7 separate regions of the Homo sapiens genome follow, and all the other regions are linked to region 1. The links are contacts of gene promoters, found by promoter capture Hi-C in blood cells and fetal thymus (Javierre and others, 2016). All regions are on one chromosome and are shown on one strand. The core of a region is centred on a gene start or on the middle of the fragment in contact, and the rest is flanking DNA. Distances in the headings are between cores, read along the strand shown.

Region 1 (3,750 bases), core at 567-3,066:
CAATCAGGATCAATTTTTGAGATTAGGAAATGAGGCTCAAAGAGTTAAACTATGTTGGTCAAAATAATGCAATTAGAGGGATGGCAAAGCCAGCCAGAGGCATCTTTCTAAGGAGCCTCCTGAATTCATGCTCGGGCTCTGGAGTCAGAAGGACCTGAGTTTGAGCCATGTACTAACTGAGAGATTGGAGATGTCACTGCACACCTCTGAGTTTTACCTAATTACAGCCTAAGAATAATAACAGTATCTACTTTAGGTGGTTGTTCTGCGGATTATGTGAAATAATGTAGGTAACGACATTCATTGTAACAATATGTTGCATGATAATACACATTATAACATGTTGCTCATGAGTTTTGCTTTAGCAGTATTTGTGGTAGTTCCAAAACTCAGTTCACGTGTCTTAAGACTTCTCTTATTATACACTCTCATCTCTTCCCTGCTTTCTACTCTTCCTTTTTTTTTTTTTTTTTTTTTTTGAGACAGGGCCTCTCTCTGTCACTCAGGCTGGAGTACGGTGATGCGACCTCGGCTCACTGGGCTCACTGCAGCCTCTGCCTCCAGGGCTCAAGTTATCCTCCCACCTCAGCCTTTCGAGTAGCTAGGGCTACAGGCACATGCCACACTACGCCTGGCTAATTTTTGTATTTTTGTATTTTATTTTTTTTGTCATGACGGGGGTTCTTGCTACATTGCTCAGGCTGGTCTTAAACCTCGGCTAGGATTACCGGCGTGAGCCACTGTGCCAGCCATCCACTCTTCCTCTTTTAGCTTAATCTACCTGAAACAGCTGATTGTTCCATGTTTGGAGGCGTATTAGTGAAGACATTGTTTTCTCCTCCCCCTTTTCGGGGATCCATTTCTTGAGGACTGGGAGAGCTTCTCTTCATAGCAGCACTCCTCCGGACTCCCAGGCCATATACACTCAGGAAATGTTGGTTATCCAATGAATGACGCCAGGAAGAAGGGTCTGCTCCCAACACGGCCTTAGCACAGTGCCTGGAAGTTATAACAGATTCTGGCACACAGCAGGAGCTCAGGAAACATTTATGTAATGAATGAATGAATGAATGAATGAGTGCACACAGTAACTAGGAGTAAGGGCTCAATAAACATTTCTGTATTAAACGCACAGTGTCTGGAACACAGTAAGCGCTCCGTCTATGGCAGCCGTGAATATCCCTGGGCGAAGCCTGTGAAACCTTGTCCAAGAGCTTGGCTTCACTGTGCGCGGGTTCGAATCTGGACTCCTCTTCCCAAGTGTGCGACCTCGGGCAAGTGATTTAATCCCTTTGTGCTTTAGTTTTCTCCTCTGCAAAAGGCGGACGGCGGCGCGAGCCTCTGAGGACACATTCCCCAGGGCACTCGGACCCGCTGCCTGGCCCACATCGCGGCCGCCGCGCCACGCCAGCCGGCCTGGGCTGCGAGGGCACAGGCCGGGGGTCCCGCGCCCTCCTCCGCGGCCACCACGGGCGCGCCCGGGACCCACGGTCCCGCCCCGCCACGATCAGTGCACCGCGAGGGGGCGGGGCGGCCACGAGGGGCAGCCCACGGCAGCCACGGGCCGGCAGTCCGCCGCCCGCCGGGGAGCCCGGCCGCCCGCACTTCTTTCTCTCCCTCTCTGCCTCCCTCCCTCCCTCTTCCCGGCCGGAGGACCCGGCCGCGCTCAGCTCAGCAGCGCCTCCCGCGAGCCGCCGCCGCCGCCGCCACTCCGGACCCCTCCCCCGCCCGCCCCTCGCTCCCCCCGCGCGGCCGGCGCCCGTCACGTGACCAAGCGCCAGCCAATGGCGGGCCGAGCCGCGGTCGGCGGCCGCCATTGCTGTCAGAGCAAGCGAGCCCGGGGAGGGAGGAGAAGCGAGGCTGACTGGGGAGGAGGGGGGGGTGGGGGAGGAAGAGGAAGGAGGGGACGTCGCTCGGCTGCCGGGGTCGCCCGCTGGCTTCGTCCGCACCCCCCCCTTCGCGAGTTCGCGCTCCGCGGCGGCGGCGGCTCCGAGGCGGCGGCGGCGGCTCCGGGGCTCGCCTCCCCTCGCGCGCCGGCGGGGGCCGAGGGGGAGTCGGTGGCTGGAGATAAACAAGGCGGCGGCAGCGGCAGCAGCGGCGGCGGCGGCGGCTGAGGAGCAGGGAAGGCGGAGGCGGTGGCCGGCCCGCAGCGCCGGCCCGGGGCGCGCGCCCCCCCCGCCAGCCCGGGCCCGCTGCCCCCGGCGCGGCGTCGCCGCGGCGCCTCCCGCCTGCCCGCCGGCCCTCGCGCCCTCCCCCGGCGGCGGCGGCGGCCCGGCCGCCCCGCGCTCCCCGGCGAGGCGCCGCCGCCCGGCCCGGCCTCGCCTCGGACGCCTCGCTCCGACATGCCCCGCTCTGGCGGCCGGGCTCGCGGAGGATCATGACTGCGGCAGCGAACTGGGTGGCGAACGGGGCGAGCCTGGAGGATTGTCACTCCAACCTCTTTTCGCTGGTGAGTAGCCGGGCTGCGGGGAGGGGGCTGTGCCGGGGAAGGGGGGGGGTCCCCGACCTCCGCCGCCGACCAACTTTCTCCTCCCGCCGCCGGGACTTCGCCCCTCCCTCGCGTCTCCCCGCCGTTCGCCTCTCGCCGATTCTCCCCCTTTTGGATCGTCTCTCTCTCGCCTTGGATCCCATCCAGTGTTTATTTGGCTCTTTAAAAATCATTTGTGAGCGCGGCGCTCGGCGTGGAATTTGCATGTGGAAGTCTCGGAGCTGCGGATTCTGGGTCGCACTTCGAACGCCCACCCTCTGTTGCAATCGCACTCCCCTTCTCCTCCCCTTTCCCCCCTTTTTTTCCCCCCGTAAATGTGGAAGGCTTTGCCTTGTGCTGCCGCGCCTCCGATCGGCAACCTCTTCCCCCGTTGTTGGATCAGCTGCCTGCCCGCCCGCCTGCCTTTTGAATTTTTTTAAATTCCATAATGACACCTGCAATTTCGCCCTAAAATAGTTGATTGAATGCGATTGTGTCAGGAAAGGACTCTTGCACCCGAAGCTCCCGCGATTGTAAACATCGACAGCCGCCTGCCTCTCGGGGCTTACTATGCTGGAGAGCCGTAAAGCCATTGCACCGAGCCGACGGAAGGTGGAGAAAGCTTTTTCTTCTTTCTCTCCTCCTGTGTCTTTTAAAAACTGTTTTTCTCTATCCTAACAACGAATCCGCACACACACACACACACACACACACACACACACACACACACACAAAAGCAACAAGCTGGTCGGTTTGATAACATCGCTTTTATCTGCCTTCGCCTCTCTCGCGCTCTCTCTTTCTGATAATTGACAACTTTTCCTTCGGATTTGAATCGCCTGCCTTAATCTTGAAGCAGTTAGGGTGTCAATTGTTCTCGTGGAAGCCTGGCACCCGCCGACGGTGTCTAGATTCATCGAAATTAAAAATGTATAGGGCTCCAGCAACTCTTTTCCTGGCGGTGTCAGTGACATTTGGTGGTAAATGCCATCTTTGCTTTTTATTGGGTCGTATTACCTACCTCTGAAAACATTCACGTTGTTAAACCTGGCGTTTAGGCTAATAATTGCAGTGCGTGGTCTTTAAATATGTGCTTTGTGCATGAGTTACTGTATGTATAGCTATGTGCCCAGGAGAGTACGAATTTGTTTAAATATTGAGCAAAGATTTGTAAACAGATGTAAGGCAATTACGTTTCAAGCGTAGAATATAATTGGAAAATTGGCTGAACGGTTTATTTAATTTAGCCTTAAAAACACCCAACTTGTTTTAAGTTGTGTACC
Region 2 (3,814 bases), core at 1,070-3,569, 370 kb before region 1:
TCATTGATGCAAAGGGAAAAAATTCATGCCCCTGCTTATGATGAAGACTCAAGCACTTGGGGAGTGCAAAGAACCAAAACACTGCTCCTTCCTGCACAGCCATGTTAACCTCACCCTCAATGTCCGCTATAGCTTCTAAAGCCCTTGCTCAATTCCCCCATGCCCCTCCCCACAACTCCTTGAGCTAGAAGAAATAACATTGTGGTTTTAGAAGAAAGGCCAAAAACCAGGTGTATTTGTCTGTTCTCATGCTGCTAATAAGGACATACCCGAGACTGGGTAATTTATAAAGAAAGAGGTTTAAAGGACTCACAGTTCCACATGGCTGGGAAGGCCTCACAATCATGGTGGAAGAGCAAGGAATGTCTTACATGGCAGTGGGCAAGAAGAATTTGTGCAGGGGAACTGCCCTTTATAAAACCATCAGATCTCATGAGACTTATTCACTGTCACAAGAACAGCACCGGAAAGACCTGCCCCTATGATTCAATTACCTCCCACTGGGTCCCTCCCACGACATGTGGGAATTGTCGGAGCTACAATTCAAGATGAGATTTGGGTGGGGACACAGCCAAACCATATCACCAGGGGTGGCAGTCATCTGGAGGAAATTTAAAAACATTATGTGGAAGGAAGTACTGGGGAAAGGATTCAGGCAATTACCCCCAAGCTCTCCCGAACAAGATGTACTTCCTCCTGGGACTTCCAAACCATGGAAGCAGCCAGTTAGAGGGGAAGCTACCGGCATTCACAGGCAGCTCAAATGATGACTTTTTGTATTTTTATTTTTGAGATGAGGTCTCACTCTGTCACCCACGCTGGTGCAATCTTGGCTGACTGCAACCTCTACCTCTCGTGCTAAAGCAATCCTCCCACCTCAGCTGCCGGAAGAGCTGGGACCACAGGTGCACGCCAGTATGCCCAGATAATGTTTTTATTTTTTATCGTAGAGACCAGGTCTTGCTATATTGCCCAGGCTGGTCTTGAACTCCTAGGCTCACGTGATCCTCCTGAAGTGCTGGGATTATAGGCATGAGCCACTGTGTCCAGCCTAGACTGACATTTTTAAGTGTGAGTTCTGTTTTGTGGCTGGAACAAGAGGAAGGCAGAGATTACTGTTTGGAAATGGCCTGGACTCTGTCCACTTTCCATAGCTCTCATCTTTGGTTTCACTTTGAAAGCTATGGTGTTGTCAGCTGGAGTTTGAAGCTCCCCCAACCCTTTTGACAGCTAAGGAATTGGGAGAATGTTGCATCTGAATGAAAAACCTGCCTTGGGTTCTGAGGTCTGCTCTGTGATGTAGATCCCTCAAATTATGCGATAGATATTTACTAAACCAAGAAACTGTTCCTCTCATACTGTTTAAAAAATGGAGGCAAGATTCATATAACAAAAAACTAACCATCTTAACATATACAATTCAGTGATATTTAGTACATTTGCAATGTTGTACAACCATCACCTTATCTAGTTCCAGAACACTTTCATTTTCATACTCCAAAAATACTCTACCTATTAAGCAGTCATCCTCATTCCCCCACCCCCACCCCCTGGCAGCCCCCGGTCTGGGTTCTGTCTCTATTGATTTGCCTGTTCTGGGCATTTTGTATAAATTGAGTTATACAATACATGATCTTTGTGCCCGACTTCTTACACTTAGCATGTTTTGAGGCTCATCCATATTGTGGCATGCATCAGAACTTCATTCTTTTTTAAGGCTGAATAATATTCTGTTGTATGGATAGACCACATTCTGTTTATCCATTTGTATCAGTTTGTTCTTCCATTGCTATAAAGAACTACCTGAAACTGGGTAATTTATAAAGAAAAGAGGCTTAACTGGCTTACGGTTCTTCAGGAGGTAGAGGTAACATGGCTGAGGAGGACTCAGGAAACTTACAGTCATGGTGGAAGGTGAAGGGGAAGCAGGCACGTCTTACGTGGCCAGAGAAGGAGGAAGACAGAGAAGAGGGAAGTGTTACACACTTTTGAACAACCAGTGAGAACTCACTTGTTATCATGAGAACAGCAAGAGGGAAATCCGCCCCCGTAATCCAATCACCTCCCCCCAGGTCCCTCTTCCAACATTGGGGATTACAATTCAACATAAGATTTGGGCTGGGACACAAATCCAAACCATATCACCATTCATCTGTTGATAGGTGTTTGGGTTGTTTGCACCTTTTGGCTATTGTGAATAATGCTGCTATGAACACTTCTATATCTCATAAGCTTATTTATTTTAGAGATGGGGTCTTGCCTTGTCCTCAGGGTGGAGTGCAATGGCGTGATCATAGCTCACTGCAACCTCGAACTCCTGCCCTCAAGCCATCCTCCCACCTCCACCTTCCAAAGTGCTGGGATTACAGGCCTGAGCCACTGCACCTGGCCCTCTCATAAGCTTTTGAAGAGCTTCTGTAGCCCTCAGCATAATGTTCTAACTTCTCAGCCTCGCTCCAATGGTAAGACCCTTTCCCCTCCCCACACTAAACCTCCTTAGGGCCTGACCTCACAGAACTACCTGTAGTTTCTGGAATTTGATTAAATATGTTTACAGTTTCTGAGTCTTTGCATAGGTGTGTCCTTGGCTTGAAATGCTTTCTTTGTCTCTCTTTCACCTGGCTACCTCTTGCTTGTCCTTAGAGACTGTCATGAAGTATCACCTTTGCTAGGGAGACTTCCACAGCACAGCATGTCTCATGTTTCCAACCCATCTCCAGGCTGTCTTGCAGAGAGTATGATGTAGGGGCAGAGGTTCACAGAACACAGGGGCTGGGATGGACCCAGGGCCCAGGCAATGGGAGAGCCCAGGAACCTCAACAATAGGTTGATGGGCATATGCTGGGAGGCAAGGTGGCCTTGGTGAATGGGATTGGGGTGTCAGGGACAAGACTGGCTTTCTGGCTTCAGTGGGATACGTTGGTAAATGTATTCAGGCCTACTGGCTCCCACTGTGTTCCTAAAACTCGTTCTGCCTATCTCCAACACAGCTTTTTTTGTTTCTGTTTTGTTGTTAGAGTTGGGGTCTCTGTCACCCAGGCTGGAGTGCAGTGGTGCAATCATAGCTCACTGCAGCCTGGAGCTCCTGGGCTCAAGCGATTCTCCTGCCTTGGCCTCCTGAGTAGCTGGGATTACAGGCATGCACCACCAGGCCTGGCTAATTTTTTAATATTTTTGTAGAGATAGGGTCTTGCTATGTTGCCCAGGCTGGTCTCAAACTCCTAACCTCAAGGAATCCTCCTACTTTGGCCTCCCAAAGTGGTGGGATTACAGGCATGAGCTAATACTCTACTTTTTAGACTGACTCTTAAATAGCCTCAGCCTTAGACACCTGCCACCCCATCAACTCCCGCTTAGATGTCAAGTTTGAACATCTGTGTTAGTCAGAAGATTTTTCCAGGCAGAGGATGAAGGAGGAAGGGGTGTGGGAGAGAGGAAGGGAGGGACTTCCTCCGTGGGTCAGAGAGGCAGCAGATACGTATGTAACTAGGACTGCCTGCCCTAGAAGATTCTAAGAAGAAAAGAAAGTAGAAGATGCAGAGAGATAAACAGGGAGAAAGGGAGGAATCAAAAACGTATTCCTTTGGGAAGTTTGCAGGGCTTATTTCTATCAAAAGAAACAATAATGTCACAGAAGTCACATGGAGTCGGGAACATTATTGGGATGTACATTCCCATGGGTTACATGAGTTGCTGACAAGCAGCGGCAGAAATGTAGCCAGGTGATTGGTCTCCAATTCTACCCCGACACTTTCAAAGAAAGTGATAAACATCACCTGCGGTCCCCATTCCGTCTTCTGTTGTCATGTGGATG
Region 3 (4,129 bases), core at 455-2,954, 340 kb before region 1:
GTGCACAGATATGTATGGTGGCCCAGCCTCTCTGATTGAATGCTGACACATACACATGCCACATCAATTAGAGTCTCTCTGCCTTCTCTACTCAGTGTATTTCTCACTAACTACTCAAGTGCCCTGACCTAGTCATTTATTACACACCTGCCATTTGAGAGTCGCCTGGGCATACAGAGAGGGAATGATGCCATTCAGTTCTACACACGCTGAGTGGTTGAATATTGCAACCATGCTGCAAAGGAAGAACAAACCACTGGCACATCTGGACAGGCTTTGAGGAAATCTAGCATTTCCCTGGCTTTGGAAGCTTAGGGGAGATTTCTATGGGCTGAAGATCAGGTGAGGACTTGGCGGGAACCTTTCCTTTCTGAGAATTTTTCCAATGCTTATGTCCAAACCATACACAACCTGGGGTTGTGTGCAGTTTTCCTCCTTGCTTGTTTGATTTCCCATTTTTTTTTCTTTTTTTGAGGCAGAGTCTCACTCTGTGACCCAGGCTGGAGTGCAGTGATGTGATCTCAGTTCACTGCAACCTCTGTATCCTGGGTTCAAGGGATTCTTGTGTTTCAGACTCCCAAGTAGCTGGGATTACAGGCACGCACCACCATGCCCAGCTAATTTTTGTATTTTTAGTAGAGACAGGGTTTCACCATGTTGGCCAGGCTGGTCTTGAACTCCTGACCTCAGGTGATCCACCCACCTCGACCTCCCAAAGTGCTGGGATTACAGGTGCAAGCCACCATGCTCAGCCTCCATTGCTTTTATGTATCTGTCTCTCCCCACTAAGTTGTCACAGCAGTAATAACAGCTGCCATTGGGAAAGGACCCGCTCTGAGCCCAGCACTTACCACATGTTATCTTTAAAGCTTACAATTCACGTGTTGGCATTATTATTTCCATTTTACAGATGGGAAGACTGAGGCTTATAAAGTCCCCTGTCTTGGGTAGAGGACCATGCAAATGAGTCAGTGGCAGAGCTGGGATTTGAACCCACTTTCTCTCTGGTCTAAAGTCCAGGCTGAGGCCTCCCCTGAGCTCCTTCAGCGTAGGAAGACACCTCTGCCACCCTGCTGTGCAGCAATGCACATGGCAAAAATCGCTGCTCTGTGTATCTGTTGGATTTTCCTCCTCCCCTGTCACCCCTTAACTGGCTCCTTTTCTTGCAGGTGACAAGGAGGCAGCGGGAAGAAAGGCTTTCCTCACTTGCCCCTGCTTTAGGCAGATCACTGGATATTTTTAGCAGCCTAGGAAGCCTCCGAGTAACACGGGCTCAGGTTTTGAACTTGCCTGGTCAGCCCTGCCTCCTGATTCCTCTCGCAAAAGGTTTATGGTGGACTCCCAGCAGCTTTGCTGATGCAGCTAGTAATGTTTATAACCATAATCAAGCACTCCGAGAGCCCCGGCGCTGATTTCTTACCCATCTCTATCCTGTAACAGAGGATTTTTCAATCGAGTAGGTTTGCTTCATTCGTTTTAAAATAGCTCCAGCCCAGCTCTGAGGATCACACGGGGCCTCGCACAGGGATTTGTACTTAGAGTCATGGAAATACATTTATTTTACTTTCCTCTTTCTCTCTCTTTGAGGGATTTTAATACATCACGCAGGAGTATTCCTCACATGGCAGGAAAAAGCCTTGCTTTGCACTGAAGACAAAGAACTGCATGTCGTGTTTACTGATAGAGAAGAGCTCCACTCGGCTTCACCCATGGGCATCTCAGGATTAGATAATTAGGGAGCTCCTTAGTGCTTACCCTGGGGGTGTCAGCTGGAAATCTACTGTCACAATGGTGATCTTCCTGCAATTTAAATGCTGGATGTGGGGTTGGCGGAGGGAAGGCGTGTTAGAGGGGCGTCACCTTGCTAGGTTTAGTGCAGCAGGAAAGAGGCAGCATGTCTTGAATTGACTTGAACCTGATAGACAACATGAGGTCACAACCCACCCCGATTTATCAACAGGACAACTAGCCTGCAGATATCCACTCTAAAGTGCTGGGAGGGACAGGAAAGCCACGCCTAGGTGGACCCTGCCCAGGATGAAAGGGAGAAAACCAGACTGAGCTCAGTGATGACCTAACTTCAGAGGCATCACATTCTCTCATCCTCACTGTCCCACCTTCAGGGAACCTGCAGCCAGGGACCCAGGGCCTTTGAGCCTGCACTGCTGGGCTAAAAATCTAGAAAACCTATTTGTTTCTTTTTTTTAATTCGTATTTTTTAGTTAGAGACAGCGTCTCTCTCTGTTGCCCAGGCGGGAGGGCAGTGGCACAGTCACAGCTCACTGCAGACTTCAACTCCTGGGCTCAAGCAGTCCTCCCACCTTGGCCTCCAAAAGTGCTGGAATTACAAGCATATTTGTTTTTTCCTCTTTTCCTTCCCTTCCCTTTCCTCCTTTCCTTTGTTCCTCCCTTTACTCCCTCCCTTCTTCCTTCCCTCCCTTCCATGGAGGTACTCAGCTTTATTGACCAATCCCTGTTGGGTATTTAGCTTGGTTCCAGTGTTTGGCTTCTACAATTTCTGCTTTAATGAAGAAGCTTGTATGTAGTTATTTTGCATCTGTCCCAGTGTCTCTGTCGGATGAAGTTCTAGGAGTGGAATTGCTTGGAGAAAGAGGGTATCTGTTTCCTGTGGCTGCTGTTAACCAAGGACCACAAACAAAGTGGCCCAAGACAACGCATATTATTCTCTCACAGTCCTGGAGGTCAGAAGTCTAAAAAAAATTTCACTGGGCTAAAATCAAGGTGTGGACAGGGCTGGTTCCTCCCACGGGCTCTAGGGAAGAATCTGTTTCCTCGTCTTTTTCAGCTTCCTTGGCTTGTGGGCCCTGCCTTCATCTTCAAAGGACTTCCCTGTACCTCTGCTCGGTCATTACATCACCTTTCCTCTCTGACCTCCCTCCTCCCTCTTACAAGGACCCCTGTGATGACATCAGACCCACTGGGCCAACCTAGAATGACCCTTCCATGTCAAGATTCTTGCTTTAATCACATTTGCCAGGTCCTTTTTGTCACTTAGGTAACACTCACACATTCCAGGGATTAGAATGTGGACACCATGATTCAGCCTGCCTCAAAGAGTATGCACTTTTATACTTTTGAGAAACTGTAAATTTCACTTCATAGAGTTTGTAACAATTTACCTCCCCGCCATCAATATCTAGGCACCTTCATTTCCCATACTTTACCAATACATCTCTATCAAACCAATTCTTTGCAAATTTAATGATTAAAAAAATCATACTCAGTTTTTTCTTTTCTTTTCTTTTCTTTTCTTTCTTTCTCTTTCTTTTTTTTTGTCTCTATCACCCAGGCTCGAGTACAGTGGCATGATCTCAGCTCACTGCAACCTCCACTTCTAGGTTCAAGTGATTCTCCTGCCTCAGCCTCCCAAGTAGCTGGGATTACAGGCATGCATCACCACATCTGCCTAATTTTTGTATTTTTAGTAGAGATGGAGTTTCACTATGTTGGCCAGGCTGGTCTGGAACTCTTGACCGCAAGCGATCCATCTGCCTCAGACTCTCAGAGTGCTGGGATTACAGGCACGAGCCACCATGCCCTGCCTCAGTGTGATTTTAATGAGCATTTCTCTTATGAGTGAGACTGAGGATGTGTTTACATATTTAAGAGCCATTTGTATTTTATTTTGGGTACACTATCTTTTCACACCGTTTTTCTTTGGGCTGTTGGGCTTTTCCTTCAATTTGTCATTCCTTAGAGGAAAATTTTAGCCCTTTGAGTTGAATTGCTAAGGGTGTTATTACTAACCCCTTTTTATAGATGAAGAAATGGAGGCTCAGAGACCTTAAAGAAGCTGCTCAAGGCTACAGGCTGATGCCTGGCAGAGTTGGGATTGAACCATCCTTGATTTTGAATGTCATCCCTGCTATTGTCTCATAGGCTGGCGGATAAGTATGGATCATTTCTGTCAAACCACACAGTAGGGATAACAATGAACCTCTTAGATTGGACCATACTTTTGCAATTTTCCAGTGGCTTTCATTTTTATTATCTTATTTTTACTCTCCTAGGTCTTATTAGCCCATTTTATACATGGGAAACTGAGGCTCAGAGAGATGTAGGGGCCTGGTCACAGTCACATGACTGATAAATGTGAAAACCTAAGGTC
Region 4 (3,917 bases), core at 759-3,258, 450 kb before region 1:
TTTTTTTCATGGAACACTATTTTTTCTTGAAAGAACAACTGATACACTAGTTATTCAGATTTGGGTATTTGGTAGACATTTTCTTGAAAATGAAGTGAGCTTGTTACTTTACAGAAAACATCTGACATTATTTGCCAATGATAATATTTAAGCTTTCAAGTGAAAATTAGAATTTTGGAAAATGCGTATCTGCTACGCTTAGCTTGTAACTTTCTAACACCTAAAGATTAAATCCCTGGTGATATTAACAAGTGTGATTTTTTTTAGTATTGTATAATGAAAATGTGTCAATTAGAAGATCTGCGTAAGATCTGTTCAATGTGCAACACAGACTCATGGATCTGAACAGTTTATGAAAAATTCATTGATATGGTTTCAGATGCCACATTGTGCTGAAGGAACTGGGTTTTTTGGTAAGTTTTATTGAGATATAATTCACATATCATACAGTTCACCCATTTAAAGTATGTAACGCTTGTTTGTAGTATATTCACAGGCTGGGCATGATGGCTCAGCCTGTAATCCCAGCACTTTGGGAGGCTGAGATGGGTGGATCACCTGAGGTCAGGAGTTTCAGACCAGTCTGGCCAACATGGTGAAACCCTGTTTCTACTAAAAATACAAAAATTAGCTGGGTGTGGTGGCAGGTGCCTGTAATCCCAGCTACTCGGGAGTCTGAGTCAGGAGAATCACTTGAACCTGAGGTGGAAGTTGCATTGAGCCAGGATCCACCACCGTACTTCAGCCTGGGTGACAGAGCAAGACTGTCTCAAAAAAAAAATTAAAAAGTAAAAATAAGGCTGGGCGTGGTGGCTCACGCCTGTAATCCCAGCACTTTGGGAGGCCGAGGCGGGTGGATCATGAGATCAGGAGATTGAGACCATCCTGGCTAACACAGTGAAACCCTGTCTCTACTAAAAATACAAAAAATTAGCCGGGCGTGGTGGTGGGTGCCTGTAGTTCCAGCTACTCGGGAGGCTGAGGCAGGAGAATGGCATGAACCTTGGAGGCGGAGCTTGCAGTGAGCCGAGATTTGCGCCACTGCACTCCAGCCTGGGCGACAGAGCGAGACTCCGTCTCAAAAAATAAATAAATAAATAAATAAAAATAAAAACAAAAATAAAAAAGTAGTATATTCACAAACCAGTAGTTTTAAAACATTTTCATCATCATCTTCCCCCTGCCCCTCAGTCCTAAGCAATCAGTAATCTACTTTGTTTCTATAGTTTTGCCTATTTTAGATATTTCATATAATTGGCATTCTATAATATGTGGTCTTTTTTGATTGGCGTTTGCATTTAGCATAATGTTTTCAAAGTTCATCCATGTCCTAGCATGTATTAGCACTTCATTTTTATGTCCGAATAATATTCCATCGTGTGCATCTGTCACATTTTGTTTATTCATTCTTTATTGAGAGACATTTGGGTTGTTTCCACCTTTTAGTTATTATGAATAACGCTGTTGCAGACATTCATTTACAAGTTTTCATGTGGACATGTTTTAATTTCTCTTGGTATATTCCTAGGAGTGGCATTACTGGGTCAGATGGTAAATCTGTGTTAAACTTTTTGAGGAACTGCACAACTGTTTTCCAAACTGGCTGCACTGTGTGCAGTGAACTTTTAGGAACCTGCAGCTGTCAAATTCTGGTGTAGTATTTAGTGTCAAGTATGCTTTAGTATTATCCATAATTTTCTGCAAAAGTTGTTAAAGTAGTCCTCCCTTTTCCAATTACACATTTGTGTGGAATAGATTTTCTTGGTGTATTCCAACCCAGACAATATATTGTGACAGATATTGAATATAGAGGTCGCTTCGGAGATTCAGCTGTCTTCCATCGAGGGAGACATTAAAAAGGTTTGCAGAAATATAAAAACATTGCCCCTCTCCTTACTATTTTTTTAAGTGTTTTTTCACAAAAAACTCATGTACCGAATTCATTGTTGTTATTTTTAAATGAATAAAAACGATCTAAAATAAACATTTTAAGGATTTATGTTTTAATTTTCAATATGGTAAGCATCAATAGCCATAACTCACATAAACCCACATATTGAGGTCCTCAGTAATTTTTAAGATTAGAAAGGGTTCCAGGACCAAAGGCTTTTGAGCCCCGCTGTCCTGGGTGCTCTGGCAGAGGCGCTCCTGCATGCGTCTGACTTGGCCGTCCCTGCTCAGCTGGCCTCAGTTTGGGTGGTCTTCCACTCCCTAGCTGTGGGCCTTGAGGGAGTTGGGGTTCTTCCTCTGTAAAATGGAGATGGTGAGATGGAGTGTACGGGTCCAGGGTGTGTACCGTTGATGGAGAAGACGCTATGAACACTGTGAAGCTCCCCGTGCACCTTAGCTCCGCTGCGGTGAGACTGGAAACTCATGGCGCAGATGCGGCAGCTTTTGCCTGGAGAATAGTTGATTATCCTCTCTGCTGCTTTGAATTCCTCTTTTCTTTGGTTTTCATGTTAATTAATGCTATGGGGGATAACTTAAATTGTAGAGATGGGAGGCAGAAGAAATCAGTGATGATGGTGGGGATGCCATTGAGGGGAGGGTTGGGAATGGTGAATGGTACCAGGTTTCTTGGGTGCATTTATTTAACAAATAACACCAACTGTGTGCCAGGCACTGTTCTGCTGGATGGCAGAGACAGAGTGGGCAAAGCAGATGACGTCTCTCCCCTCCAAGAGCCTATATTCCACTAGCGGGTAAGGAGGAGAGATAGTAAATAAGCAAAATGATTTCAGATAATGATGTATGTTATGAAGAAAACAAAACAGGATGACATGATCTAGTGGCAGGGCGGGCCTAACTATGCGAGGCATTTGACCTGAGATTAAACAAGTTCCCATCTTGGGAGTCAGAAGGGTCCTTAGAGTTCCTCTCGTGTAACCAGATGTTCTCATACGTGTTCAAGTGGTGCAGCTCCTGAAAGTCTCAGGGCTGTTTGCATAACTCCTTGAAAATCTACGAACGTGTTCAGCCTTAAAGGAGCTAAGTGTGTAAATTGGTGCCAAGTTAGATACTGTCTAGAGTGAAGTATATATCATATAATATGAGACTTGCTAATTTGGTGGGGATTTTTTTGTTTTGCACTGATTATTAAGAGAGAGAGATATATATATATTGCAGAATGTTTGTCTCGTATTGCACAGGGTAGAGGAGAGGAACAGTTACCCATAATCTCACTAACCAGAGGCATCCACTGTTCATATTTGGGCATATTTTCTTCCTGCCATTTTTCATCCTTCTTGTTTGTATAGTTGAGGCATACTGTTTCTTCATTTAACATATAAGCATTTCCCTATCTTTAAAAGCTCTTTGGAAATAGGATTTTTATAACTAAAAATTTCCATTATCAGGCTGCATTTAGCCATTTCCCAAATACTAGACATTTGGAGTACCCTCTGGCCTTTCTCCCCCTCCCCTCTTTTTCTGAGGTTCATAAGAGTGCCTTATGTTTCCGTGCTTTACTGCTTACATGGGACATTTATCTCACTTGACCTGTGATAACTCCTGAAAAGTACACAGCACAGTTATGAATACAGCCCTTCTGAAGTGAGACACAAAGCAACGCATTAGTAATCACAGTGTGTTTCTGTAGCTCTTTACAATTAGGAAGAAAGCCCTCATGTACTTTTGGCTCCTGCTCTTCTCTTTGTACCTAGTGCACCCCATGTGGACATGTGTCACAGCATCTGCAGTGCCTGATCGCACTGATATATGGAGGTACCCCTTTCTCAACAGCTCTGAGGCTCTTCGAATACAGAACCAGACTGCCGTTCATCTCTGCATCCTTAGCATTCTGTAAGAACTAGATATCTTTGAATGAATTTCGAGTGAAAAAATATAAATATGAAGAAAAGCTTAAAATTGAGACAACCTAATAGGGTAGGTGAAACAGTTCAGGAAAGGTAGAAAGC
Region 5 (4,315 bases), core at 1,007-3,506, 390 kb before region 1:
TGGTGGAAGGTAAATTAGTACAACCTCTATGGAAAACAGTAGGGAGATTTCTCAAAAGAACTAAAAATAGTCCTACTATTCGATCCAGCAACCCCAAAACTGGTGTATATACCCGAAGGAAAAGAAATCATTGTATCAAAAAGATACCTGCACCCATATCGCAGCACTATTCACAATAGCAAAGATAAAGAGGCTAAGTATCCAGAACACATGAATGGATAAATATCTCTCACACACACACACACACACACACACACACACACACACACGAAGACTACTCAGCCATGTAAAAGAATGAAATCATGTCCTTTGCAGCAACGTGAATGGAACTAGAGGCAGTTATCTTTAAGTGAAATAACAGACACAAAGTCAAATACTGCATGTTCTCACTTATAAGTGGGAGCTAAATAATATGAACACATGCACATAGAGAGTGGAATAATAGACATTGGAGACTCAGAAGGGTGGGGAGGGGGAGGGAGAGGGATGAAAAGTTACTTAATGGGTACAATGTACACTATTCGGGTGATGGCTACACTAAACCCCAGACTTCACCAGTATGCAATATATCCATATAACAAAACTGCACCTGTACTCCCGAAATCAATCAATCTATGTATTTTACCGATCATCTATCAGTCTATTTATCTTATCTTTCATCAATCTATCTTATCTATCAATCATCTATCTTATCTATCATCTATCAATCATCTATCCATCGTATCTATCTTCTATCAATCATCTTATCTATCATCTATCAATCTATCAAGTCTTATCAATCTATTATCTATCTATCTATCCACCCATCCAATCTCGCTCTCTTTCTCTTTCTCTCTCTCTCTCCCCCTCTCTAAAGCACAAGCTCGGCTGGGCGCAGTGGCTCATGCCTGTAATCCCAGCACTTTGGGAGGCGAGGCAGGCAGATCATTTGAGGTCAGGAGTTCAATGAGACCAGCCTGGCCAACATGGTGAAAACCCTGTCTCTACTAAAAATACAAAAAAAGTGAGCTGGGCATGGTTGGTGGCATGCATCAGTAATCCCGGCTACTCAGGAGGCTGAGGCAGGAGAATCGCTTGAACCCAGGAGGCAGAGGTTGCAGTGAGCCGAGATCATGCCACTGCACTCCAGCCTGGGTGATAGAGTGAGACCATGTCTTCCCTCACCAAAAAAAAAGCACAAGCTCAGGAAGTTGGGAACACACATGGGGAGACACGTGCTCTGGGATATGAGATTGGGGGTAGAAACCCCCAACGTGCATGCTCTGAGTTGAGCCTGGAGAGACGGCACTATTGAGAGATGAAGGGATGAGGAGGAGCACATGGGCAGAAGGAACCACAGCGGCAAAAGCAGCGACAAGCCACTGCACCCGGGAGGATGGCTATAACCAGGGAAACAAAAGAGGAAAATAACAAGTGTTGACGATGATGTGGAGAAACTGGAATCCTCATGTGTTGCTGGTGCAAATATAAATACAGAGCAGCCATTCTGGAAAAAATACAGTGCAGCCATTGTGCCATTTTGGGCAGTTCCTCAAAAAGTTAAACATAAAATTATCATGTGATATAGCGTATCCACCCCTAGATATATACCCCAAATAACTGAAAACAGGGGTATTTAAAGAGATACTTGAACACAAATGTTCATAGCAGCACTACTTACAGTAGCCAAAAGGTGAAAACAGCCTGAATGTCTATTGATGGAGGAATGGCTGAACAAATTGTGGGCTATTCATACAATGGAATATTATATGGCTATAAAAAGGAACCAAGTACTGACCCATACTACAACATGGATGAACTTTGAAAACATTATACTAAGTGAAGGAAGTCAGGCATAAAAGGTGACCTACTGTATGACAGCATTAGAGGAAATGTCTAGAATAGGCAAATTCATAGAGACAAAAAGTAGATTTGTGGTTGCCAGGGCCTGGGTGCCAGGGGAGAAACTGGAGAAACTGCCTAATAGGTTGAGAAATTTTACTCTGGAGTCATTGAAATGTTTTGGAACTATGTAGAAGTGGGGTTTGTACAACATTGTGAATATACTAAAACCCACTGAATTCTACCCTTTAATATGATTTTTTATTATGTGAATTTCACTTAAATATATATATATATATATATAATTTTTTTTTTTTGAGACAGCGTCTCACTCCATCACCTGGGTTGGAGTGCAGTGGTGCAATCTCAGCTCACTGTGACCTCTGCCTTCCGGGTTCAAGCAATTCTCCTGCCTCAGCCTCCTGAGTAGCTGGGATTACAGGCATGTACCATTACGCTTGGCTAATTTTTGTATTTTTAGTAGAGACAGGGTTTTGCCATGTTGGCCAGGCTGGTCCTGAGCTGCAGCCTGCCTCGGGTCCCGAAGTGCTGGGATTAGAAGCGTGAGCCACTGCGCCTGGCTCCACCTAAATAATTTTTTTTTTTTAAGCACAGGGAAGTGCAGTCTGTAGGGGAAGAACTGACGTTAGAGTAGGGAGCTAGGCAGACATGAGCAGGGCAGGAAAGGGCCCCCACCCCGACCCACAGGAATGTCAAGTGACCATCAGGTGATAGTCAGGTGGTTGTTAAACTCTCTCTCTAAAATACTAATTGGGCCAGGTGTGGTGGCTCACACTTGTAATCCCAGCACTTTGGGAGGTGGAGACATGTGGATCACTTGAGGTCAGGAGTTCGAGACCAGCCTGGCCAACATGGTGAAACCTCATCTCTACTAAAAATACAAAAATCAGTGGGGCATGGTGGTGGGCACCTGTAATCCCAGCTACTCAGGAGGCTGAGGCAGGAGAATCGCTTGAACCTGGGAGGCAGAGGTTGTAGTGAGCCGAGATCATGCACCACTGCACTCCAGCCTGGGTGACAGAGTGAGAAATCTTGCCTCAATAAATAAATAACTAAATAAATAAAATAAAAATTGGTCACAGCTGGTGCCAGAAAGGCAGGCTCCCAATAGATAGAAAACACCTGAGGCTGGTGATAACTGCTTCTGGATAAGATCTCAGCAGTTGGGCGAGTGAGCTCCAGCATGTGCATTAAGAGGCAAAATGGCTGGGGTTTAACTGATCTATGACCTTCTTCTAGCATTGCTCGAATGGTAAGGGAAGAACGCCTCACATGAGCATGCACACAACTTCAGTAAACACACTGTGCATGCGGACCCTCCTGAATGCACAGGTCCCCGCTCATATGGACAGCCCACCCCAAGGAAGAGTTAGGAAGAAGAAATGCAGACCCCGGAACCAAGCCAATGTATAAAACCCCAGGTCAAGGGTTGGACAACACACTTGGGTCTCTCAAGTCACCCACTTGGTCCTCCTCTTCCAAGTGTACTTCCTTTTGTTCCTGCTCTCAAATGTTTTAATAAACTTTTACTCCTGCTCTAAAACTTGCCTTGGACTTTCACTCTGCCTTATGCCCTCAGCTGAATTCTTTCCTCTGAGGAGGTAAGAATCAAGTTGCTGCAGGCCTGTATGGATTTGCCGCTGCTCACACTGATGGTAGATGGATTTCTGAGATTGACTTTGGTATGAGGTGAGTGAGAAGGCATAACCTTGAAAATGAGGGTTGAGGCTATTTGTAGATTTCTTAAGTGCAGTGTTAAAGACTTTCAACTTTATTTGGTAGCCAGGGGGATCCCTTTGCTTTCTCTGTACTCAGTGGCCTAGAGCAAGGATTGACACACTTTTCCTAGGAATGAGCAGATAGTAAATATTTCCAGCTTTTCGGGACACACGATCTCTGTTGGAACTACAGCCAGCCCTCTCTATCCTCAGGTTCCGAATCCAAGGATTCAACCAATTGCAGATAAAAAATATCAAAAACAATAAAAATAATAACTAAAATAATACAAATTAAATAACAATACAGCATAACAACTATTTACACTGCATTTACATCGTATTGGGTATTGTATCTAGAGATGATATAAAGTATACAGGGAAAATTTAAAGTATACAGGGGTATATGCAAGTACTATACCATTTTATATCAAGGACTTGAGCATCTGTGGATTTTAGTAATCTGGGAGGTCCTGGAACCAATCCCCCACGGATACCGAGGGACAACTGTACTCAACCCTGCCACTAAGGCACAAAATGAGCCATAGACAATCTGTAAACAGGTGGGCATGGCCATTGGCCAATACAACCTTATTCATAGACACTTTACTTTTGATTTCATTTTATTATTTAGAGACAAGATTGTCTTGCTCTTGATAAAATAAAAACTTCAGCTGGATTAAATTTAAAGTAGTTTAATTGAGCAATGAACAATTCAGAAATTGGGCAGCCTCCTGTGCCAAGGTACGCTCAGAGAC
Region 6 (3,907 bases), core at 131-2,630, 420 kb before region 1:
TACTAACTAGGACACTTTGGTGAAATTGTCCTAACCTTGCTGATCTCCAGTTTCCACCTCCGATGAAGGGGGATGCTAACTCACATCTTAAGTTCCAGTGCCCTGGGATGAACGTGTCAGATTCAGATGTGGGAGATCCCAGCCCCACGACTCCAGCACTTGCACGGTTCGCTTCCCTCCCCTGGCCTATGGAACTGGGCGTCAGCTGTGTCCATGGGGTCCCTCTCAGCCCTCCCCACTCCCAGTGCCGGGATGTCCCCTCTCCTCTTCCGTTCCAGAGCGGGCGATGCCATCCCATGCACAATACAATGAAACTAATTGCTTGGTGGTGCATTCTCCTTTATAAGAACTACTAGCCCCCAGGGACTCTGCAAACCTGCCCGCTTGCCGATCTGCAGACAAATAAATGATCCTCCCCCAGGACTCAGGAGACGGGCTCCCGGGTCTGCTCAGGTAACCCGCGGCACTCCTTTGGTGCATTTTTCCCCGTCCTGATTAAAAGTGGGGGCAGGTGACCCCCGTGCGACTCCCACTGGCGGCAGCCAAGAAACGGGAGCCGGAGAACAGCAGAGGGAGGCGTGGGACCCTGTGTAATGAGATTCGCAGACGCCGTTCCTCACCCTCCGTGTCAAGGAGACATTTTCAAAAAGGTTTGACACAGCATCCTCGAAGATCCCTTTGCCAAAACACAAGGTGGAGGCCCCTGGAGTACTTTAAGCCGGCTTCTGTTAACAGAGCAGTCCGTATGCATATTATAATCACGCCGCTCCAATGCCCCGTTAAGCAGCTGTTCCCACAAAGAGGGACAATAGTCCAACCCCACCCCTTTTAGAGCTGATTTCAGTCTTGTCTTTGCTGGTGCCAATTCTTTGATCAGTTTTCACTTAGGATCTGGAGGGCATGTTACAAAGTGCTTTGGGCTGTCTGCCAACAGGCACCTCACTGGCACATGACAACAGCCCAGAAGTGTCAGTGCTGGGAGAGAGACAGAGCTCGCGGGATGCCTTTTAAAAAATAATTATATTTGAATTTTAAAAGCAATCTTCATATATGTAAGTAGCTTCATTTATATGGAAAACTATGCTGGTTCCTCTACCCTTTTAATATTTGATGTCGCATCAGCTTCCTTCACAGTTGGGATAAGCGGTCCGTGGCTTCTTGGGGACTTTTTGGACTCCTGGGTTAAGAAAAAACAATGAGAGGGCTAGAGACTATTATTTCTTTCCCATTTCTCCTCCATTCCCCTTCCTCCTGCACCTCAACTGGATGCTTTGTTGCTAGATCGATTGTAGAAGATCTGGAAGGGCAAGGTGGGGAATTGGGAGTTGAAAAATAACTTTTGTTTGTCGGTGGTGGTAACTATCATTTATTTTATTTTTTGATTGTGGTAAAATACACACAAGATTTGCAATTTTCCTTCCTTCTTTCTCTTTCTTTCGTTCTTTCTTTCATTTTTGACAGGGTTTCACTCTGTCACCCAGGCTAGAGTGCAGTGTTGCAATCTCAGCTCACTGCAGCCTCAACTTCAAGGCTCGAGTGATCCTCACCTCAGCCTCCAGAGTAGCTGGGACTACAGGCATGCAACACCATGCCCAGCTAATTTTTGTATTTTTATATATTCTTTTTTAAGACATGGGTTCCCCCTCTGTTGCCCAGGCTGCTCTCAAACTCCTGAGCTCAAGCAATCCTCATGCCTTGGCCTCCCAAAGTGCTGGGATTACAGGTGTGAGCCACTGCACCTGGCAAGATTTGCCATTTTCAATGCCCAAAAAGATTATGTCAGCTAATGTGTACACCTAAAAGTGGTGTGCAGTTGAGTGACATCGTGTGCATAGACACTGTTGTGCAGCCATCACCACCATCTATCTCCAGAACTTTTGCACCACCCCAAACTGAAATTCTTTGTGTGTGTGTGTGCGTGCGTGTGTGTGTCAGAGTCTCACTCTGTCACCCAGGCTGGAGTGCAGTGGTGCAATCTCGGCTCACTGCAACCTTTGCCTCCTGGGTTCAAGCGATTCTCCTGTCTCAGCCTCCCAAGTAGCTGAGATTACAGGCATGCACACCACACCCAGCTAATTTTTGTTATTTTTAGTAGAGACAGAGTTTCACTATATTGGCCAGGCTGGTCTTGAACTCCTGGCCTCAAGTGATCCACCAGCTTCGGCCTCCCAAAGTGCTGGGATTAAAGGCTTGAGCTACCATGCCCAGCCCCCAAACTGAAATTCTATAGCACCCATTAAACAGTAACCTCATCTCCCACTCCCTCCAGCTCCTGGCAGCCACCATTCTACTTCCTGTCTCTATGATTTTGACCGTACGACAGGCCTCATCTAAATGAGACCCTCATTTTGTGTCTGACTTCTTTCACTTGGTATCATGTCCTCAAAGGACATTCATCCACGTTGCAGCATGTGTCAAAACCTCCTTCCTTTCTAAGGCTGAATAATATTCCATATACATATGGACCACATTTTGCTGATTCATCATCCATCTTTGGACATTCGAGTTGTCTACCATTTATTGAGTCTTACAGGTTGCCAGCCAGCCATGTTAGATGTTTATCTACTTACAGACATCTAATTTAATTCTCACCAGTGTCATTTTATGGTTGAGAAAAAAGAGATGATCCTTGCTTGAAGTAAACTGCTATTGACTGGTAGAGCTGAGATTTGCTTTTAGGGATGTCTGACCCTAAAACTATGGTTCTCCAATGTCAGCGTGTTCCAGAATTGCCTAGAAGATTCTGTTAAAAAGAAAGGCTGTGTCTGACCTATTCTGATTCAGAAGGTATGGAATGGGACCCAGGAATCTGTATTTTTTATTTTTGTGGAGACTGGGTCTTGCTATGTTGCCCAGGCCGGTCTCAGACTCCTGGCCTCAAGTGATCTTCCCACCTCTGCCTCCCAAAATGCTGGGATTATAGGCGTGAGCCACTGCGCCCGGTCGGGATCTGTATAACAAGCTCCCGAATCCAATATAGGTTATCAGAGAAGCAGACCTTGCTAAATATGCTCTAAAGTTTAGGGATTTGACTGCTATGTTATATGACCTCATTCTTAAGGTTGTTGGAGGCAGCTCTTCAAAGAGCATTTCAAGATAAACAAAAATGTTCCAGGTAAAGGAAGAGTTGGGAGAGACTTATACAGGGAATCCATAAAGAGCTCATACACGGGAGAGTGTATGAAGGCCCACAGTTTGGGCTGCATGTGCGACTGAACTTTTTTTTTTTTTTTTTTTGAGATGGAGTCTCACTCTGTCACTCAGGCTGGAGTGCAGTGATGCGATCTCAGCTCACTGCAACCTCTGCCTCCCGGGTTCAAGCGATTCTTCTGCCTCAGCCTCCCGAGTAGCTGGGATTACAGGCATGCGCCACCACACCTAATTTTTTTGTATTTTTAGTAGAGATGGGGTTTCACCATGTTGGCCAGGCTGGTCTCAAACTCCTGACCTCAGGTGATCAGCCTGCCTTGACCTCCCAAAGTGCTGAGATTACAGGTGTGAGCCACTGTGCCCGGCTTCGATTGCACTTCTCAACGGCCCAAGCAAAGACTGAAATAGGATCAGCCACAAAATGTATGCCATTTGTGACATAAAACATACCAGCAGAGGCACAGCTAATCCATGCATTTTGATCTGAGGGCTCCTAATTGAGAAGACCCTGTGCTGTCATGGAAACAGTCACCAGCACTCCTGAGCCAATACCATAGGACTCCCATAGGTCTATTTCTTCAGGGTGAGCCAAAGTTCGATGCCAAAGAACGGTTCAGTAAAGACAGACCTGGGGGAAACAGTGCTGAACTGCTTCAAGCTCACTTTTCTGCAGGGCGTGATACAGTCCTGTGCCTCCCCTGGCTCAGTCTCTCTGCTTTGTCTAGTTTGTCTCCCTTGCAGATCCCCCTACCCCCAA
Region 7 (3,869 bases), core at 794-3,293, 430 kb before region 1:
TTAGTAGCCAGGATGGTCTCGATCTCCTGACCTCGTGATCCGCCCACCTCGGCCTCCCAAAGTGCTGGGATTACAGGAGTGAGCCACCGCGCCTGGCCACATCTCACTATTCTTAAGGAAGAGAGAGAGCGAGAGAGAGTGTTGTCCTGTCCTGTGGGGATTGGGGCATTGTATTAAGTTGTACTGGGGGATGTCAAGATAGAAATGTTGAGTAAGTTACTACCTGAATAAATATTTGACCAGTTGATGCTAATTTGAATAGTAAATGTGATGACATTATATATTCTCAGGGATGTTTCCATACATTGGCTCTGTGTGTGCGTGTGTGTGTGTGTGTGTGTGTAACAAAAGCAGTATGAAGTATGTGAGCAATATCCTAATTTTATTGACAAGAGCACTGACCTTAATGACCTTGAGTAAATTACCCTCTCCGGCTTTGGTTTCCTCATTTGTCAATTAAGGGTGATGGCTAGCGTATCTTGCAGATCCAAATTCCAATTTTTGTAACAAGCCAAAAGTCCCCCTGGCTGTTAAAGCAAGACCAGAGCCCTCGTATCCCAGCGGCTGGGTCCCAGGCTTTTGATTTTCACAGGACAAATGTAGCCCAGCCATCTGGAGCCCGTTTTTCTCCAAACCAGGGCTTCCTCCTTCTCTCTTGCAGATTTCAACTGGGGCTCACCATTTTCTGCCTCTTCCTCCTCCAGTTTTAAAGAGACACCATATCCTTCTCTGCTGGGACCAACTTCCCATGTACTGCTGCCCTGCACCTGTGAAAACAGCTGCTGTGTTTTCTGTCATAAAAATAGCTGCCTTTTGGCAGAGAAGCACACAACGGTACTACGTTTCTGAGCCTTAATGCAGTGCTCAATTATTTAGGTGTGCTTCACCTGAGATACACAGAGCATCTTGGAACTCCTACTAAGCAGGGCTTCTACAGGCATTGCTCAGCTCAGTAAAAGGTTTTCCTTTCTCTGCTTTTGTGATTACCAGGCAGAAACCTTAAAATGTATGAACTTACAAAGAAATTAAATTGTGCCAAATTAGATTCCCAGCCCCTAGAGATAACCACTAATTAAAGTTCCGCTGGAGCGTTTTGCCTGTATTTTGTATATAAACGTGGATTTTGTATTTGTATGTAAATAAAGGTAGGACCCTGCTGTCCATATTATTTTAAAATAATTAGCTCCTGTTAGATTGATTTAATCCAATGATAGCGAATTCATTTGCAGAGCAGGCAAGCGCACTTTCCACTTCTATCATCCTGCCTGGAAGATTGAAGCCCAGTTAGAGGTTAAAACCCTTTCATAATTGCACAGGAGTTTAGCTTTGCCTGCTTTTTCCTTGTCTGATTTTATGCAGTGGGGAAGGAAGTCTTTTTGTTCTGCACAAATAAATTATAGGCATTTGTCGCGGCCGGAGTTGACCTGCATTAGGGATGCTGAAGAAACCTGTCACGGCAGGGTGTCTCTCGGCGTGACTCGACTTTCCTGAGAGAGCAGAGATCGGGAAAACTGCACTCCAGATCTCCTGAGCCTGTCATTTATTTTAGTGAATTGCTAAATGCAGAAATGTAAAATATAAAAAGGCTAGGGGAGGATCTGTGGACCGTCTTACTGGCTACCTGGTGTTGTAAGATTATTTGAGCTCAAGGCAGTCCACATTTCCCCCAGCACCAGCCAGCTCCGCCCTGTCAAGCTGCTGGTCTACATGGTGGTTTTCGAGGGTATAAAGGACTTCAGTTTCTAAAGATGTTCCTAAATGCTCCGTGGCATCTGCAGCAGGATGTCGGGAGCTGGAATCCACTGTGCTCTCTTCCCTAGGCACGTGCTGGACTCAGTTTCTCCCGGGAGGTTTGCATCTGGGCAGCACTTCAGGGCGTGCTCCTCGAGCTCCGTCCGTGGCATCCATACCTGCCTGGGCTGTGCCTGCAGCCTGCTAAATGCCAACCTGGAAGCCCAAGACAGATAGGCTTGGAGCAGCTTAGCAGCCGGCTGGGCTAATTTATTTGACACAAATCAGCTCATTGACCTGATTTAGCACGGGGAGGAACTACAGAGCCGAGTCACATGTGATCGTAAAGCCCTTTCTTCTCACTGCAGCCCTTTCAGACCTCGAAGGATGGCAGTGTAGTCAAATGACACTTGCGGTGCGATTTCAAGGGAAGGAGGAGAAGATGGAGAGATGGAAAGTGGAGAGCAAGGCAGCGCGGGTGGCACAGACACCGACAATTGCTTTCTGTGCCACTTGGTGGCACCAATGCCATAGGTTTTCTGTCCTCAATGTGATCGTTGTCTAGAGATTATGGGCCCCGTGCCTGCGTGGAGCTCTCTCTCCTGAAAACAATGAAGCTGTTTCTATAGATGAGAACCATCTGGTGGGGATGACAGATCAGGACTCTTTCCTGGGTCCGGGCGATTTTGTGAACAGGGACTCAGGAAAGTAGCCCTTGCAGAAGAGGGAACTGGGCATGCTGCTGGTGCAGAGAAGACCCAAGGCTTAAATAAATACTCACAGCTACCCCCTTCTTCCTCCTGCACCCTCCGCCAACACGAAAAGTGGGATAGGCCTCTTAACCATTCATACTCAGACAAAGAAAAACATTTATGAAGCACTTGCCATGTGCCACTCTGCACGTGCAGCGTCCCATCCCCATCTTCAGAGACCAGCATTCTTCTTTTGTGTGTGTGTGTGAGAGAGAGAGAGAGAGAGAGAGAGAGCAAGACAGGGTCTCACTCTGTTACCCAGGCTGGAGTGCAGTGGCGCGATCTTGGTTCACTGTAGCCTCAACCTCCCAGGCTCAAGTGATCCTCCCACCTCAGCCTCCTGAGTAGCTGGGACTGCAGGCACACATCATTACACCCAGTTATTTTTTAAAAATGTTTAGTAGAGATGGGGATCTCGATATATTGCTCAGGCTGGTCTTGAACTCCTGGGCTCAAGTGATCTGCCTGCCTCAGCCTCCCAAAACGGTGGGATTATTATAGGCGTGAGCCACTGCACCCAGCCAGGCATTCCTTTTCTTTTTTCTCTTGGAATGGAGTCCTGTCACCCAGGCTGGAGTGCGGTGGCGCGATCTCTGCTCACTGCAACCTCTGCCTCCCGGGTTCAAGCGATTCTCCTGTTTCAGCCTCCCAAGTAGCTGGGACTACAGGTGCATGCCACTATGCCTGGCTAATTTTTGTATTTTTAGTAGAGATGGGGTTTCATCATGTTGGCCGGCTGGTCTTGAAGTCCTGACCTCAGGTGATCTGCCCACCTTGGCCTCCCAAAGTGCTGGGATTACAGGGCATGAATCACCGCGCCCAGCCAGGTGTTCTTTTTTGTCATTTTATAGAGGAAGTCTCAGACGCTCAGGTTAATTTTAGCACAAGTTTACACCATGACATGGAGGAGCCACCTGCAACTCCAATCTGCGTGCAAGCAGGGCCGGGGCAGCGCGTTGCCTTGGCACGTTTTGATCACCCTTTGTTGTTTCCTGTGGGCAGGGGCTGTGCCTCAGTCTCTTATTTCTGGGCCCATTGGCCTGTCTATGAAAGGATGTCAACAGGATAATGCATGGGGTCCTTCCAGCCCTGGTATTCTAGAATTGTAGTTGGTGGCTTCTAGGACCTGGAAGGTGTTGCTTGAAACCAGTGCTGTTTAATCAGTGGGAGATTTTACACCACCCACTTCAAGCAATGTTTGAAGACATTTTGTTGTTGTTTTTGTTTCTTTGTTTGTTTGTTTTGAGACAAAGTTTTGCTTTGTGGCCCAGGCTGGAGTGCAGTGGCACAATCACTGCTCACTGCAGCCTCGAACTCCTGGGCTCAAGTGATCCTCCCATCTTAGTCACCTGAGTAGCTGGGACTACAGGCATGAGCCACCATGCC

What was found. Contacts are between HindIII fragments. The CHiCAGO score rates a contact against its expected background, and 5 or more counts as called.
Region 2: a contact is called between a fragment that was not itself captured here and the fragment with the promoter of MED13L in region 1, in 12 of 17 cell types (monocytes, M1 macrophages, M2 macrophages and 9 more). The highest score is 11.1, in monocytes.
Region 3: a contact is called between a fragment that was not itself captured here and the fragment with the promoter of MED13L in region 1, in 17 of 17 cell types (monocytes, neutrophils, M1 macrophages and 14 more). The highest score is 30.9, in monocytes.
Region 4: a contact is called between a fragment that was not itself captured here and the fragment with the promoter of MED13L in region 1, in 5 of 17 cell types (neutrophils, monocytes, naive CD4 T cells and 2 more). The highest score is 8.3, in neutrophils.
Region 5: a fragment that was not itself captured here is called in contact with the fragment with the promoter of MED13L in region 1 in 10 of 17 cell types (monocytes, fetal thymus, non-activated CD4 T cells and 7 more); the score reaches 13.1 in monocytes.
Region 6: a contact is called between a fragment that was not itself captured here and the fragment with the promoter of MED13L in region 1, in 15 of 17 cell types (megakaryocytes, monocytes, M0 macrophages and 12 more). The highest score is 22.5, in megakaryocytes.
Region 7: a contact is called between a fragment that was not itself captured here and the fragment with the promoter of MED13L in region 1, in 17 of 17 cell types (naive B cells, M1 macrophages, megakaryocytes and 14 more). The highest score is 18.4, in naive B cells.

Annotation. Positions count from the first base shown.
Region 1 is chr12:116,275,759-116,279,508 of GRCh38, reverse strand. MED13L (mediator complex subunit 13L) reads left to right here and starts at 1,816. Exons shown (of 31, transcript NM_015335.5): 1 at 1,816-2,449. The coding sequence starts at 2,378. RefSeq lists silencers at 1,408-1,467, 1,518-1,987. The HindIII fragment of the contact is 4,130 bases long and covers 1-3,091 here.
Region 2 is chr12:116,647,618-116,651,431 of GRCh38, reverse strand. No RefSeq gene overlaps it. Among named protein-coding and RNA genes, the nearest start is that of LINC03088, 12 kb to the left of the region's middle. The HindIII fragment of the contact is 169 bases long and covers 2,235-2,403 here.
Region 3 is chr12:116,618,206-116,622,334 of GRCh38, reverse strand. No RefSeq gene overlaps it. Among named protein-coding and RNA genes, the nearest start is that of LINC03088, 41 kb to the left of the region's middle. The HindIII fragment of the contact is 1,666 bases long and covers 872-2,537 here.
Region 4 is chr12:116,727,081-116,730,997 of GRCh38, reverse strand. The region is part of intron 1 of SPRING1 (SREBF pathway regulator in golgi 1); the gene reads left to right. Among named protein-coding and RNA genes, the nearest start is that of SPRING1, 9.0 kb to the left of the region's middle. RefSeq lists an enhancer at 3,869-3,917. The HindIII fragment of the contact is 3,708 bases long and covers 155-3,862 here.
Region 5 is chr12:116,668,579-116,672,893 of GRCh38, reverse strand. All of the region lies in intron 1 of LINC03088 (long intergenic non-protein coding RNA 3088), which reads right to left. Among named protein-coding and RNA genes, the nearest start is that of LINC03088, 9.2 kb to the right of the region's middle. The HindIII fragment of the contact is 5,264 bases long and covers 1-4,315 here.
Region 6 is chr12:116,690,390-116,694,296 of GRCh38, reverse strand. The region is part of intron 1 of LINC03088 (long intergenic non-protein coding RNA 3088); the gene reads right to left. Among named protein-coding and RNA genes, the nearest start is that of LINC03088, 31 kb to the right of the region's middle. The HindIII fragment of the contact is 6,709 bases long and covers 1-3,907 here.
Region 7 is chr12:116,707,481-116,711,349 of GRCh38, reverse strand. It overlaps SPRING1 (SREBF pathway regulator in golgi 1), which reads left to right. Exons shown (of 5, transcript NM_024738.4): 5 at 1-1,179. Among named protein-coding and RNA genes, the nearest start is that of SPRING1, 29 kb to the left of the region's middle. RefSeq lists enhancers at 1,999-2,178, 3,479-3,528. The HindIII fragment of the contact is 5,313 bases long and covers 1-3,869 here.